Linked DNA regions of Homo sapiens: regions 2 and 3 are each linked to region 1. Evidence: promoter capture Hi-C in 16 types of primary human blood cells and fetal thymus (Javierre and others, 2016). All regions are on one chromosome and are shown on one strand. The core of a region is centred on a gene start or on the middle of the fragment in contact, and the rest is flanking DNA. Distances in the headings are between cores, read along the strand shown. Region 1 holds the start of SLC28A1 (solute carrier family 28 member 1). Region 2 overlaps SEC11A (SEC11 homolog A, signal peptidase complex subunit). Region 3 overlaps SEC11A (SEC11 homolog A, signal peptidase complex subunit).

The links. The method cuts DNA at HindIII sites, captures the fragments that hold promoters and counts their contacts. A CHiCAGO score of 5 or more calls a contact.
Region 2: a contact is called between a fragment that was not itself captured here and the fragment with the promoter of SLC28A1 in region 1, in 2 of 17 cell types (M1 macrophages and M0 macrophages). The highest score is 6.1, in M1 macrophages.
Region 3: a contact is called between a fragment that was not itself captured here and the fragment with the promoter of SLC28A1 in region 1, in 2 of 17 cell types (M0 macrophages and M2 macrophages). The highest score is 5.5, in M0 macrophages.

Annotation. Positions count from the first base shown.
Region 1 is chr15:84,881,828-84,886,898 of GRCh38, reverse strand. It overlaps SLC28A1 (solute carrier family 28 member 1), which reads right to left and starts at 2,237. Exons shown (of 19, transcript NM_004213.5): 1 at 2,148-2,237; 2 at 112-227. RefSeq lists enhancers at 2,157-2,657, 2,658-3,158. The HindIII fragment of the contact is 20,311 bases long and covers 1-5,071 here.
Region 2 is chr15:84,672,424-84,677,494 of GRCh38, reverse strand. All of the region lies in intron 4 of SEC11A (SEC11 homolog A, signal peptidase complex subunit), which reads left to right. Among named protein-coding and RNA genes, the nearest start is that of NMB, 17 kb to the right of the region's middle. The HindIII fragment of the contact is 9,766 bases long and covers 1-5,071 here.
Region 3 is chr15:84,693,409-84,698,479 of GRCh38, reverse strand. All of the region lies in intron 1 of SEC11A (SEC11 homolog A, signal peptidase complex subunit), which reads left to right. Among named protein-coding and RNA genes, the nearest start is that of SEC11A, 20 kb to the left of the region's middle. The HindIII fragment of the contact is 7,601 bases long and covers 1-5,071 here.

The sequences.
Region 1 (5,071 bases), core at 988-3,487:
TCAGAGACCCGTGCATGTGCGTGCACACACACAGGCAGAGCCTGGGAATGCCCTGGCTCACACACAGACGCACAGCAGCGCACACAGAAGCGGGGCCCTGTTTCTACTCACGTATTTGCGGTTAACAGGTCGCTCTCAGAGAGAGAGGGAAGCACACGTCTCTGTGGGGACAAGCTGGGTCCAACCTGCTTTGGCTCTGGCTTGCCTTGTCACTTCAGCAGAAATTCCTGGGCAGAGTCCAGGGTCGGAGTAGGTTGGGCCTGCCACCCAGTTCTGCCCAGCGCCTCCCCAGAGGCCAGGGCCACAGCCAGGGTGGGGACCCCAACACGGTCTCAGGGATACAGGAAGCAGGCCCACTTGCAACCTGGCTCCCTGCAGCTCCTGCCCACTGGCTGCTGCTTCTCCATCAGAGATGCCCTCCTCTGCCCTCTCCCCAGTTCCCAAACTGACCTCTTCCAGGCCTATTAGGGCCGCTTCTTCCAGGAAGCCACCTATGTGATTATTTCCCTCCCCCTCCTTCCTTCCCATGGCCTCCTTTCCCCAGCCAGGCTGTTAGCTTTTTGCATTTTATCTTTCATTTTGCATCTTTCTCTATCTCCCTTTCTCACTAGATGGGGATTTATTATAACAGCAACCAATTTTCCTGTGCTGGAAAATGAGGAAAGCAGTGTAGCTGTGAGAAATAGTAAAAGTGTTTCAGGTCTGTCAAGAAAACAAAACCAAATCACACCATTTCCCCTTCATTTCATCTTTGTTAAATGAATACCTAAGCCAACGGTGTGCAAAGCGAAGGGCTGAATGCTTTAGTTTTCCAGTCCTCACACTAAACATTAAACTCATCTGACGGGATTCACAACATCTCTTTAATAATTAATGGTACGCGCTCAGGACAAAATCCTCTATGATGCATAAATACTTGCTAGTACCGGCACCTCCTGGTTGTTTTGGAAGTTTGGAGAGGATGGTGGATGGACACCCCCTCTTTTTGAAAACATTTTTTCTTCATCTGTCATTTGAATTACCAAAGCATTACAAGTGTATCATTAAACATTTAAACATTAGAGAAATATACAGAATGAGGGAAGTTAAAGTCCCCGGAATCTGAGCCCTCAGGGATGACCACTATTGAGTTTGTGTGGCATTTTCCTCCTTTTTTTTTTTTTTTTTGAGACGGAGTTTCACTCTTGTTGCCCAGGCTGGAGTACAGTGGTGCGAGCTCGGTTCACTGCAACCTCCGCCTCCCAAGTTCAAGCGATTCTCCTGCCTCAGCCTCCCAAGTAGCTGTGATTACAGGCATGCGCCACCACACCTGGCTAATTTTGTATTTTTAGTAGAGATGGGGTTTCTCCATGTTGGTCAGGCTGGTCTCGAACTTCCAACCTCAGGTGGTCCACCCACCTTGGCCTCCCAAAGTGCTGGGATTACAGGCATGAGCCACCGCGCCTGGCCTTTTCTCCACTTTTTTTTTCCTAAATGTATGTTATTTTATGTTATTCATTTTCCAATAGGGGATCACACAGTAACAGTGTTCTCATAATTTGATTTTTCTAGCAGAGTTCCGCACACTGTTGAGAGCCCATGTGTTACCTTGATTGAAAACTAGCCACAGAGCAAGACTCTACCTTTAAAAAAAAAAAAGAGGGGGGGCACGGTGGCTCATGCCTGCACTCCCAGCACTTTGGGAGGCCAAGGTGGGCAGATCACTTGAAGCCAGGAGTTCGAGACCAGCCTGGCCAACATGGTGAAACCCCGTCTCTACTAAAAATACAAAAATTAGCCAGGCATGGTGGCAGGTGCCTGTAGTCCCAGCTACTCGGGAGGCTGAGGCAGGAGAATTGCTTGAACCCGAGAGGTGGAGGCTGCAGTGAGCAGAGATCACACCACTGCACTCCAGCCTCGGCAACAGAGCGAGACTCTACCTCAAAAACAGAAAAGAAACAAAAACTAAATGCCTCTGAGCAGCACTACTGTCTCCATGGGTGGCCACCACAGGGATGGGCCTGGAGCTGTCCTCGAAGGGGTCTTCGCCAAGCCCTAGTGAAGAAAAAAAGGACGCTACCTGCTTTTCCACTTTGCCCTGTGCTACCCCCTTCCCCTCCTTTCTTCAGTCCCGCCTTCCCTCCTCTCCTACTGTCCTTTTCTCTCACCCTTGTTTCTGTCAGCATCCAGAGGGAAGCCAGGAACACAACACATCCAGCAGCAACCATGCAGTGCAGCTTATAACCTTCACATCGTTGTGGGCCCTAATCTCTACAACAAGGATTTAATGGGCTGTGTGTCTTGGGGTGGACCTTGAGCTTGGAGCCCAAAGGTCTCCACTCCTGACTGCCAAAGTTAACTTGCTGCCTCATCTGGTGGTGGGTAATAGAGCACATGAGGAGTCAGCGTGCTCCTGCTTAGGAAGTACCTGGCAGGGAGTCAAGCGGCATCAGGCTGGCAGGTGTCATTGCTGTCACAGGTCCCATCCGGGGTGTCCTGACACACTGCTCCCCTCCTCCAGGCCAGGAGACTCCGGGCTTCTCCCCTGCTCCTCCTCTCAAGGAGGCATGGCCAGCAGGGATCCCAGACCCCAGAAGCCAAGCGGTCTTTTCAGGTGGAATGTGGCAAAAAGCCACAGGCTGGGGAGTTGGGAGGCTGGATAGATTGGGGTGGAGACCCCAGGGAAAGACCAACAGCTGGAGGACCTCAGGTGTCCCGGCTGTGCCCCTCCAGCTGTGGGACCTCAGCATGTCCTTGGGCTTCTTGGTGGCCTGTTTCCTAAGGAGACAGCCTCTGAGGCCCGGCACACCCGCAGACGCCCGCTGAGTGAGACCTAGAGCTGAGCCAGGCCAGGGCAGAGTGGGGAGAGGACCACATAAATATACATAGATAATTTCCCTCACCATCCAGCAGAGCTCAGAAGGGTTGACAGTAAAGGGGCTGCTCCACCCCTCCAACTCTATCCCATTCCTCAGAGGCAACCACCTAACTTTTCTGGTTTTAGTTCTTCTGCAGGCCACCTCCTGTTTTAGGGAATTATTAGTCAAAGAGTTGGAGAGGATCCCTTCTCGCCAGGCTCTGACATAATAGGTTATTTTATAAGTAGTGAGTGAAACATTCAAAAAGCACAAGAACTGTCAGAAGAGTTGCTCAGCAATCTCTTTATTTTCTTCTCATGATTCTGCCCACACTCATTTCTTAGCTCTTCACAGGCGAGGTCTCTTTCATTGCATCGATTCGTGTATCCAAGCACTGGACAAATAAAGAGGCTTATCACTCGTCAAGTTCCATGAACATGACCTCATCATTCTTCTCTCCTAAACCTGGGATGATTGGCAGAAAGGGCATCCATACAACTTTTTCTTCTGCATTTGGCATTGAAAAATGGACTTCCCGTAGTCTGTAGTAGAAATATTGGAAAGTAGCAATAATCCTAGCACTTTGGGAGGCCAAGGCAGGTAGATCGCTTGAGCCCAGGACTTCAAGACCAGCCTGGGCAACACAGGGAGACCCTGTCTCTACAAAAAATAGAAAAAATTAGACAGGTGTGGTGGCGTGCACCTGTAATCCCAGCTACTCAGGAGGCTGAGGTGGGAGGATCATTTAAGCCTGGGAAGTCAAGGCTGCAGTGAACCATAATCACACCACTGCACTCCAGCCTGGGCGACAGGAGTGAGACCCTGTAAAAAAAAAAATTGATGACATAGAGCTAAATACAAAGACTAAAGAAATATCTTGGGCTTTTATACTCTTTGCTTGTGACTCTTCTAGTTTTCCTGTGGGAACGGACTAGCCCAAGTGTTAGAGCACACTGCTCTCCCGGCAACTACAGAGCTAGTTCAGCTGGTCCCAGGGGAAGAAAGCATTCCAGTACCCCAAAGGCTGGAAGCCCCCAGCCTGCTTGGCATGATTATCCAACGGTTTCCGATATAGTTTACTCCTTGACCCACTCTACTCACTGAGAACATCTGGGCACATGTGGTCATCATCCAATACAAAATGGAAGGCCGAGTCTGGGGCTCATCTACGGCAGCAACAAGAGGCCTGGTAGAATTAGGATGCCGGGTCCCACCTGCAGGAGTGCTTAAGGCCACCAGGCAGGGCGAATTTTACCCAAGCAGTTCAGAGCTCACTGTTCCCAAATATTTAATATTTAATTGATTGTACTTAAAAAGTGTATTTCCCTTGTTGTTCTTTTTACCTTCTATTCCTCTTGCCTCTCCAGCTCATATTAGCATTTTATTTATTCATTTATTTTTTTGAGACAGGGTCTCACTCTGTCTCCCTGGCTGGCGTGCAGTGGCGCAATCTCAGCTCACTACAGCCTCGACCTCCCACCAATCCTCCCACCTCAGCCTCCAGAGTAGTTGGGACTACAGATGTGCACCATACGCCAGCTAATTTTTTTTTCTTTTTTAAAAAATTTCATCCTGGTTGTTCTAATATTTATTTATTTACCTATTTTGTAGAGACAGGGTCTTACCATGTTGCCCAGGTCTAGAACTCCTGGGCTCAAGTGATCCTCCTGCCCCGGTCTCCCAAAGTGCTGGGATTACAAGTGTGAGCCACTGTGCCCAGCCTCATATCAGCTTTTCATATAGTGAGAAATTGAGATAGTTCCTTTTCAGTTTGATCCAGATCAAGATGTTCTGCAAACCAAGGGTCTTAATTCATGTTATGCTATTGGGTTCAGGGGTGATGTCCCTGTCTATTATAGGTTTTATACTAAAGGCTATATCTTCCTTCTAAAGTACACTTCCTCCAGCTATTGGCAGGGGCTGTGGAGACTATTAATTTGGATCTCCATTGCCTTATTGATCAAGTCACAGTTGATAAGCCGATTCGCTATACAGACAAAAATAATTCCTTGATTGTTCCATCTTCTCCCCCTGTCATAGAAGTGGTCTGATGTGGCCCTCACTGAGACTTAGGGCGAAGCCAGATATTTTTACAGGAGTAATCATGAAGAGGACTTAAGGCCTCCTGGCAGGAGCCAGGAAAACAAATCTACCAAAGACCAGCAGGGTCCATAGAGAAGTGCTGACAAGTAGGGCACCACAAATTAAATACAATTGTTAGGTAGAACAAAAAC
Region 2 (5,071 bases), core at 1,665-4,164, 210 kb after region 1:
TCTAAAAAAAAAAAAAAAAGAAAAAGAAAAGAAAAAATTCCACACTATTTAATGCTATTTTTAAAATCCCAACATAGAAACTATAGACCATTTTGAGCTGTTACTTAAAAAAATGTAATAGTCTAGTACTCTCTGCATTAAGGAAGTTTCTGTAGAAAAAAAAAACCTAAGACATGAACAGCAGAAGCACAGAATCTTAACTATATAAATTTACTTTCCATTGATTGTACCTCTACTGAGCTTGACACGTAATGGAACATAACACTTTCTTTTGTGGAAATTGTGTTTATAAAACACTAAACTGGTATTTCAAAGTCAGGATGTACACAAATCTTAAGAATAGAGCTTTTCCACAGGCAAGTCTGTTACTGTAGTACATACGTCTTCATGCTTTTTTTTTTCTTGAGACAGAGTCTCACTCTATCACCCAGGCTGGAGTGCAGTGGCAGAATCATGGCTCACTGCAACCTCCACCTCCCAGGCCCAAGCAATCCTCCCACCTCAGCCTTCTCAGTAGCTAGGATCACAGGTGCATGCTATCACACCTGGCTAATTTTTTTAATTTTTGTAGAGATTGGCTCTCCTTGTGTTGCCCAGGCTGGTCTTGAACTCCTGGGCTCAAGCAGTCCTCCACCTTGGCCTCCCAAAGTCCTGGGGTTACAGGTGTGAGCCACTGTGCCTGGCTTCCTTTATGCTTTTTTTTTTTTTGAGATGGAGTTTTGCTCTTGTTGCCCAAGCTGGAGTGCAATGGTGCTATCTTAGCTCACTGCAACCTCTGCCTCCCAGGTTCAAGGGATTCTCCTGCCTCAGCTTCCTGAGTAGCTGGGATTACAGCTTCCTGAGTAGCTGGGATTAGCCATGCCCAGCTAATTTTTTGTATTTTCAGTAGAAACAGGGTTTCACCATGTTAGCCAGGCGGTCTCGAACTCCTGACATCAGGTGATCTGCCCGCCTCGGCCTCCCAAAGTGCTGGGATTACAGATGTGAGCCACTGCACTCCGCCTCCTTTATGCATTAAAAAAAAAAAAAATTTTTTTTTTTTTGAGACAGAGTTTCACTCTTGTTGCCCATGCAACAGCATGATCACGGCAACCCCCACCTCCCAGGTTCAAACAATTCTCCTGCCTCAGCCTCCCAATTAGCTGGGATTACAGGCATGTGCCACCATGCCCACCTAATTTTTTGTATTTTTAGTAGAGATGGAGTTTCACCATGTTGGCCAGGCTGGTCTCTCTCTTTTTTTTTAACAGCTGCACACTAAAAAAATTTTATGTTGAGGCCTAAGGCTCTAAATTAAAATAATTTAAAAAAACTTTTATTGAGATATAATTCACATATATTAGAATATAAAATTCACCATCTTAAAGAGTACAATTCAGTGGGTTTCAGTATATTCACAAGATTGTGCAACCATCACCACTATCTAATTCCAGAACATTTCTATCACCCCAAAAATAAAACTCAGTACTCATTAGCAGTCACTCCCCATCCTCTACTTCCTGTAGCCTCGGACAGCCACTAATCTGCTTTCTGTCTTTGTGCATTTCCCTATTCTGGACTTTTCATATAAGCAGAATCATACAATGCGTAGTCTTTTGTGTCCAGCTTCTTTCACCTAGCATAATGTTTTTAAGGCTTATTCATGTCGTAGCATGTAATAAAAACAATTTTAGAAAATGAAACTAATACTGAACCAATTAAGTATTAATAAAGGTGATTTCTTTCTAAACTCAGGAAGTTGAAAAATTCAAGAGCACCCATTAGTTAAGAAGGAATAGAAAGCAGCAGGTGAAAAGGGTGAAAGATTGGCAGAGGATCGGGGAACAGAAATGTTGAAAATGGAAAGAAGAATTAAAAATATATAAGGAAGGAGTAGAGTAATTGAGCTCTCTGTTAACTGAAATCAGTTTTATGGATAAGACTTTTTGAATGTACTTCTTACTTGAAACAAGTCATTCTAGAAACAAGATGATCCTTTTCTGGTCATCGCATATTCTCTTACTCTCTCATTTAGTTGCTGCTGGATTTCAGACTTCCCAGATATAGACCCCTTTTGATATTTGACAGAATTGTGCTGGGGTCTCTTCTTAATTTTTGTGGCATCTTTTCTTTACTGTTTGTTTGGCCTTTTGTCTAATGATCTCTATGAGCATCAGGAGACAGTGCTTTCTTCTGAGGCTACTTCCTCAGCAGTACCTTTGATCCCAAGAATTCCCACGGAAATGTATTTAACTATATGAAATGCATTTTACCTTCTAGATATTAACTTGGCACAGGCTAGTGTTGGAGTTGGCTTTGTGGATGGCATTCATTTTACTTACTTTAAACCTCCTGCTTATTAGCAACTCTGCTTTAGCACATGAGTTTATCTGAGCAAAATAGGCAAAAAGTGCAAATGGTTTGAATTTAAGATGACTGATGATAGCAGCATTATACACTTGATTATCAGCTCTTTGCTTATCTCTGTCCATGGAGGGTAACAGTGGTACAGACAATTAAATCTTTTGTTTGACTTTGAACTGCCTCGTCATATTCTGGGATCCTTAGATCTTGCTTATATTACTCCTAAAGACCAAGTTGCTTTCATTTCACTTACAGTGGGCAAAGAAAAGCCAACCTTTAAAAAAAAGTTTCAGGTTGTGTGTGGTGGCTCACGCTTGTAATCTCAGCACTTTAAGAGGCCAAGATGGGAGAACCGCTGGAGCCCAGGAGTTTGAGACCAGCCTGAGCAAGGTAGTGAGATGCTGTCTCTACAAAAAAATTTAAAAATTAGCCAGGCATGGTGGCGTGCACTTGTAGTCCCAGCTCCTTGGGAGGCTGAGGTGGGAGGATTGCTTGAGCCCAGGAGTTCAAGGCTGTAGTGAGCTATGATCACACCACTGCATTCTAGCCTGGGTGCCAGAGTAAGATCATGTATCAAAAAAAAAATTTTTTTTTTTAAATTCCATGGATTATTCACAAGCAGGCTATGTGATTGCTGGGAGCTGAGGATTGTGGTTCTTTGGGCATAGATATCATTGCATGGAGGTAACAGAGTCTCTGTGTATTAGAATGGCTGCTTATTGATCATCAGATCAGAATTAGCAGCTTAATGTTTTAGTAGAAATCACAGATGCTTTTATAGCTCTTAATCTGTACTTTACTGTGAGGCATTTGCCTTTATGTTCTTAAATTAGGTGATTTACTGAAAGCTATTGCTTTTATGGAAGTGTTAAAAATGAGACAAAAGAAATAACAGTTACTGCATTAAAAAGGAAAAATAATATATATATATAAATATATATAAAATGTAGAAAACCTCTATCCATCCTCTTAGAGCTTAGCCGTGCCATTCTTTAACGACTGTTACTTTTCAGCTCTTGGAGATCCCAGGGGTTGAGATGAAAGCATGAACCCTAAGAAGGGATATTATTTGCCATCACACACCTATATGTGCATCTCACACTAAAATTGTACTTCTTGAATTTTGATGTACAGGAGCGTTATTTGGGCCCCACCTTTCAGAAATTCCCTGGCTTAGTTGGTCTGGGAAAGATACAAGAATCTGCATTTTTATTTATTTTTTTTATTTTTTATTTTTATTTTTTGAGACAGAGTCTCACCCTGTCGCCAGGCTGGCATGTAGTGGCACAATCTCGGCTCAGTGCAACCTCCACCTCCCGGGTTCAAGCGATTCTGCTGCCACAACCTCCTGAGTAGCTGGGATTACAGGCGTGCACCACCATGCCCAGCTAATTTTTATATTTTTAGTAGTGACAGGGTTTCACCATGTTGGTCAGGATGGTCTCGATCTCCTGACCTCATGATCCACCCGCCTCAGCCTCCCAAAGTGCTGGGATTACAGGCGTGAGCCACCGTGCCCAGCCAAGAATCTGCATTTTTAACAAGCCATCAAGCGGTTGTGACAGAGGAGGTCTAGGCTTTAAGAAACACCAGTGTATGGAATGGGAGTTTGGGGATGGGGCAAGAGAGACAGGTCTCAGTGATCCTGCTAGAAGGGAGAGGACAGAGAGGGGTGAAGACAAGAGACAGGAAGTGAGGGGAGTTCTTTTTTTTTTTTTTTTCCCAAGGCAGAAGAATTTTTCTTAGTACAGAACAAAATGAAAAGTCTCCCATGTCTACTTCTTTCTACACAGACACGGCAACCATCCGATTTCTCAATCTTTTCCCCACCTTTCCGCCCTTTCTATTCCACAAAACCGCCATTGTCATCATGGCCCGTTCTCAATGAGCTGTTGGGTACTCCTCCCAGACCGGGTGGTGGCCGGGCAGAGGGGCTCCTCACTTCCCAGTAGGGGCGGCCGGGCAGAGGCGCCCCTCACCTCCCGGACGGGGCGGCTGGCCTGGCGGGGGCTGACCCCCACCTCCCTCCCGGACGGGGTGGCTGCTGGGCGGAGACGCTCCTCACTTCCCAGACGGGGTGGCTGCCGGACGGAGGGGCTCCTCACTTCTCAGATGGGGTGGCTGCCGGGCGGAGGGACTCCTCACTTCTCAGAGGGGGCGGTTGCCAGGCAGAGGGTCTCCTCACTTCTCAGACGGGGCGGCCGGGCAGAGACGCTCCTCACCTCCCAGACAGGGTCGCGGCCGGGCAGAGGCGCTCCTCACATCCCAGACGGGGCGGCGGGGCAGAGGCGCTTCCCACATCTCAGACGATGGGCGGCCAGGCAGAGACGCTCCTCATTTCCTAGATGGGATGGCGGCCGGGCAGAGACGGTCCTCACTTTCCAGACTGGGCAGCCAGGCAGAGGGGCTCCTCACATCCCAGACGATGGGCAGCCAGGCAGAGACGCTCCTCACTTCCCAGACGGGGTGGCGGCCGGGCAGAGGCTGCAATCTCGGCTCTTTGGGAGGCCAAGGCAGGCGGCTGGGAGGTGGTTGTAGCGAGCCGAGATCATGCCACTGCATTCCAGCCTGGGCACCATTGAGCACTGAGTGAACGAGACTCCGTCTGCAATCCCGGCACCTCGGGAGGCCGAGGCTGGCGGACCACTCGCGGTTAGGAGCTGGAGACCAGCCCGGCCAACACAGCGAAACCCCGTCTCCACCAAAAAAATACGAAAACCAGTCAGGC
Region 3 (5,071 bases), core at 973-3,472, 190 kb after region 1:
TCAGTATACCTTCTGTAATATCTAGCTTCTGATTTCTCCTTTCATGAGTTAGAAAGCAGGAGAATTGTGATTATGGATTAATGAGTCCCTTAATTTGAGGTCTTAAGATAAATGGAATTTAAGACTTAGGCCAACTGCTATTTTGTAGCTCTAAGACACATTTTTGCTTCTGATTTCTATGAACATATCTTATATGTTGAACTTCAAATATCTCTTACAAGAATAGGAAGCACAATGGTGTATTTGATCATTGTGATCAGTAAATACACAGGATGTAGCTTCTAGATGGTAGCCCATTAAATTATAGTATTTAAAATTATTATCAACTTTTATCTTGCTGAATTTTCTGTGTTAGGTTTTTCTTAATTTCTTATTATATATTACTTAGAGTGGATTATAAATTGTCTTGTGGCTTATTCTAGTCACAGGAGTTTGGGGGAAGGCTCTACACAATACTTCCTAAAAAGAAAAAAAAGAATAGTAAACACAAATCCCTATATCACAGCTGCTGAGAGATATTATATAGAACTTTGATATCATTCTTTTCTAGTTTCACCTTGAGCATTGAAGAAATATTGTTCTGGTCATTTCTTAGAAAAAATAATAAGGCTATTCAATTCTGTGGTTATTATTCTACATATGTTGCAATGTCTTTATTAATAGTTAGCTTGATGTGGTCAGATATGAGGTTAGGTAGCTGCCACCTTATTTCTGCCAATACAGAAAGAGGCAACACTTTTTTTCCAATTATATACATTCCTAAGCATTCAGACATAGTGATAAAGAAAGTAGGGGCTAGGGAGGCAATATGTTTGACGTTTGAGTAAAGACTGTTGGCAGGAAAAGAGAGGGTAAAAAGAAAGGGAGAAGAGTATGACACTTTTCAATCTTTTGCTCAGATACAATGTTTGTTTTAGCAAATAGTGTGCTTCTGTCTAGGTTTTGGCTTGCAGATTGACTTAGCAGTATACAAATAGGTACCTTTTAAGGAACATACCAGTTATACATAATCAGGAACTTTAACCTCTTTCTCTAATAAAAATGAGGAAGATGATCTTGATGATTAGCTACATTTCACAATAATAATTCCATAATAAAAGTATTATATGTCTGAGAAAAAGGAGAAGGATAATTATGGCTGGGATAGTGACCTTTCTTGCAAGAACATAGGAAATTATATATTTTAACTTGTTCATTTTTATTGTATTATTATTTTTTGAGACAAGATCTCACACTGTTACCCATGCTAGAATGCAGTGGTGCTGTCACAGCTCACTACAGCCTCAACCTCCTGGGCTCAAGCAATCCTCCTACCTCAGCTTCTTAAGTAGTTGGGACTACAGGTGTGTGCCACCACACTCAGCTAATTAATTTTTTTTTTTTAAGAGACAGGGTCTTGCTATGTTGCCTTGGCTGGCACTTTTTTTTTTCTTAATTTTTAAATTTTGTTATTTTTTTTTTAGAGATAGGGATCTCACTATGTTGCCCAGGCTGAACTCGAACTCCTGGGCTCAAGCAGTCCTCCCACCTTGACCTCCCAAAGTGCTGGGATTATAGGCATAAGCCATTGCACCCGGTGGGCATTTTTCTTTTAAATAGCAGTTATCTTATTAAATGTCTAATTAGGTAACTTCTGCAACTCTATAACCGAGCCCTTTTGAAAATGGAAATTTTTTTTCCCCAACAAAATAGACGTGAACTGTGGGTTTTTGTTTTGTTTTGTTTTTAGTTTTTATTTACTTCAGTGTGAATTTTTGTTTTGCTGCCAAAATCTTAATGTGTTTGATATTGGGATATTGCCATAAACCCTGCTAAGAGTATATGTAACATAGGGTACATGCAAGTATTACCTTTTCAAAATCACACCCATTCTGAATCCTGGAACACATCTGACCCCCAAGGGTTTTGAGTAAGGGATTATGGAGCTATATACATTGTAGAATCCTACAACCCCTTCCTCAGAGGTTCTGAATTAGGGCCCAGAATCTATTGTCCTAACCAGTACTGTAGGTGATATTTTTAGTGCAGAAAGTTGGAAATTTGAGTCTTAACTGAATTCCTCACTGTTTATCTTCTGGTTGACATAATTGTGTCTTAGAAGCTAGTTTTCCTACTTCTATCATGTCCCACTCCACGTCTTCAATTCAGCCTTCAGAATAAGAAGACCCATTTTGTCTTTTAAAAAGCCACCATCTTGAAAACATAGAATTTAGGAGGCCAGAGTTCTAATAGTGCTACTCTGCCAGCCAGTAGACAAGCAGCCATGAGCATGTCGCTTAGCTTCTCTGTGCCTCAGTTTCCTTACCTGTAAATGTGAGTGTCAAAGTAGGTTTCAGATTATCCATGTGCTCACATCACTCTATTACTGAAAGAACAGCAAATATTTCTAATTGTCTCGGCGAAAATGTTCATATTTCCTTTTGTGGAAATTGATTAATTACATTGATTGAGTACACCGTGCTTCATTGGAATGCTAGAAGAATAGTGTTCTGGCCATTAGCGTGGACTTAAAAAAATAAACCAAAACAGTTTAGTTTTGAACAGGTGATACTTGCATATAGTAAAAACTGTAAAAACATGAAGTATGTATATCAGAAAATATTTTTCTTCCACCTTGACTCCTGGTTCCTTTTCTCCAGTTTCTTGTCTGTCTTTTCAGAGATTAACTGTGCATTTATAAGAATATGAAACTTGATCGCTTCTCGGCCTTTTGGCTAAGATCAAGTGTGAAGAATATGAAACTTGAAATGTTTTTAAAAAGTATGCAGGAAAAACAGGTTAATTGTAGGGAGAAAATAGAAAATGGTACAAGAGAGCTGGATTCCTCATCACAATTGTATTTATTTTTTGAGACACAGTCTTGCTCTGGCACCTGGGCTAGAATGCAGTGGGGCAATCATAGCTCACTGCAGCCTTTACGTCCTGGGTTCAAGTGATTCTCCTGCCTCAGCCTCCAAGGAGCTGGGACTACAGGCATGCACCACCACACCCAGCTAATTTTTCTTTTTTTTTTTTTGAGACGGAGTTTCGCCCTTGTTGCCCAGGCTGGAGTGCAATGGTGCGATCTCGGCCCACTGCAACCTCCGCCTCCCAGGTTCAAGCGATTCTCCCACCTCAGCCTCCCGAGTATCTGAGATTACAGGCATGTGCCACCAAGCCCAGCTAATTTTGTATTTTTAGTAGACATGGGGGTTTCTCCATGTTGGGCAGGCTAGTCTCGAACTCCCAACCTCAGGTGATCTGCTCGCCTTGGCCTCCCAAAGTGCTGGGATTACATGCGTGAGCCACCGAGCCCAGCCTCTGGATATTTTTTTTTAATCATCCGCATCTCTATTTAGTGTGCTAAATTTTCCTCTACCTTCTTTTTTTTTTTTTTTTTTTTTTTTTTTTTAGATGGAGTCTTGCTGTGTCGCCCAGGCTGGAATGCAATGGTGCGATCTCAGCTCACTGCAACCTCTACCTCCCGGGTTCAAGCAATTCTCCTGCCTCAGCCTCCCGAGTAGCTGGAATTACAGGCACACGCCACTGCGCCTGGCTAATTTTTGTATTTTTAGTAGAGATGGGGTTTCACCATGTTGGCCAGGCTGGTCTTAAACTCCTGACCTCGTGATCCGCCTGCCTCGGCCTCTCAAAGTGCTGGGATTACAGGCGTGAGCCACTGCACTCGGCCTTTTTTTGTATTTTTTTTTGTAGAGATAAAGGTCTTGCTTTCTGGTCTCGAACTCCTAGGCTCAAGTGATCCTCCCACCTCAGCCTCCCAAAGTGTTGGGATTACAGGCATGAGTCTCTGTGCCTAGCCCCTCATTGTACATTTTGAACATCATGCATTAACACCCTAGTATGAAAGTAAACAAACAGTTTTTAGAGTGGTTGGGGTAAACACCAGAATGAATAGCTAGAAGAGATGAAAATGGTTGATGTAGGTGGCCTGCCATGGCTAGGATATTGCTTTTTTTTACATATTCTTGTATGTATGTGTGTATACTGTTTTGATTAAAAATAACAATTGATTTAAAAAGGGAAGTAGAAAATGTAGATGATCAAAATGAAATAAATAAGAATTGCCTAGTATTACACCCCCAAATATAACAACTAACATTTATTTTATTTTCTTCCTTTTTTTTTTTGAGAGAGTCTTGCTCAGTTGCCCAGGCTGGAGTGCAGTGGTGCGATCTCAGCTTACTGCAACCCCCGCCTCCTGGGTTCAAGTGATTCTTGTGCTTCAGCCTTTTGAGTAGCTGGGATTACAGGCATGTCCCACCACACCCAGCTAATTTTTGTGTTTTTAGTAGAGATGGGGTTTCGCCATGTTGGCCAGGCTGGTCTCCTACTTCTGGCCTCAAGTGATCCACCCACCTCAGCCTCCCAAATTGCTGGGATTACAGATGTGAGCCACTGCACCTGGCTTCTTCCATATTTTCTATGCATTTTTTGGAATTTTTCAGAAAAAATTGAAAAAACAGTACAGGGAACACCTGTAATCTGTCACACAGATCCAACAATTATTAGCATTTTGGCCATATTTGTTCTATGTATACTTATGTGTGTGTGCATATATAGAATTTTCTTTTGCTGAATCACTTGAAAATGAGTTGCAGATATGAGAATTCACCCCTAACTACAACTACTAGCTAACTACTACTAATATGCATCTCCTGTGATAAGGATAGTATTCCACATAACCACAACACCATTATCACATAATTTAAGAAAATTAGAGGCCGGGTACAGTGGCTCACATCTGTCATCCCAGCACTTTGGGACGTCAAGGCGGGTGGATTGCTTGAGGCCAGGAGTTTGAGACCAGTCTGGCCAGCATGGTGAAACCCCGTCTCTACTAAAAATACAAAAATTGGCCGGGCGTGATGATGCATGCCCATTGTAATCCCAGCTACTTGGGAGGCTATGGCACGAGAATCACTTGAACTTGGGAGGTAGAGGTTGCAGTGAGCTGAGATCATGTCACTGCACTCCAGCCTGTGTGATAGAGCAAGACCCTGTCTCAAAAAAAAAAAAGAAGAGAAAAAAAGAAAACATGAATTTCCTAATGTCATTTAATATTCAAATCATA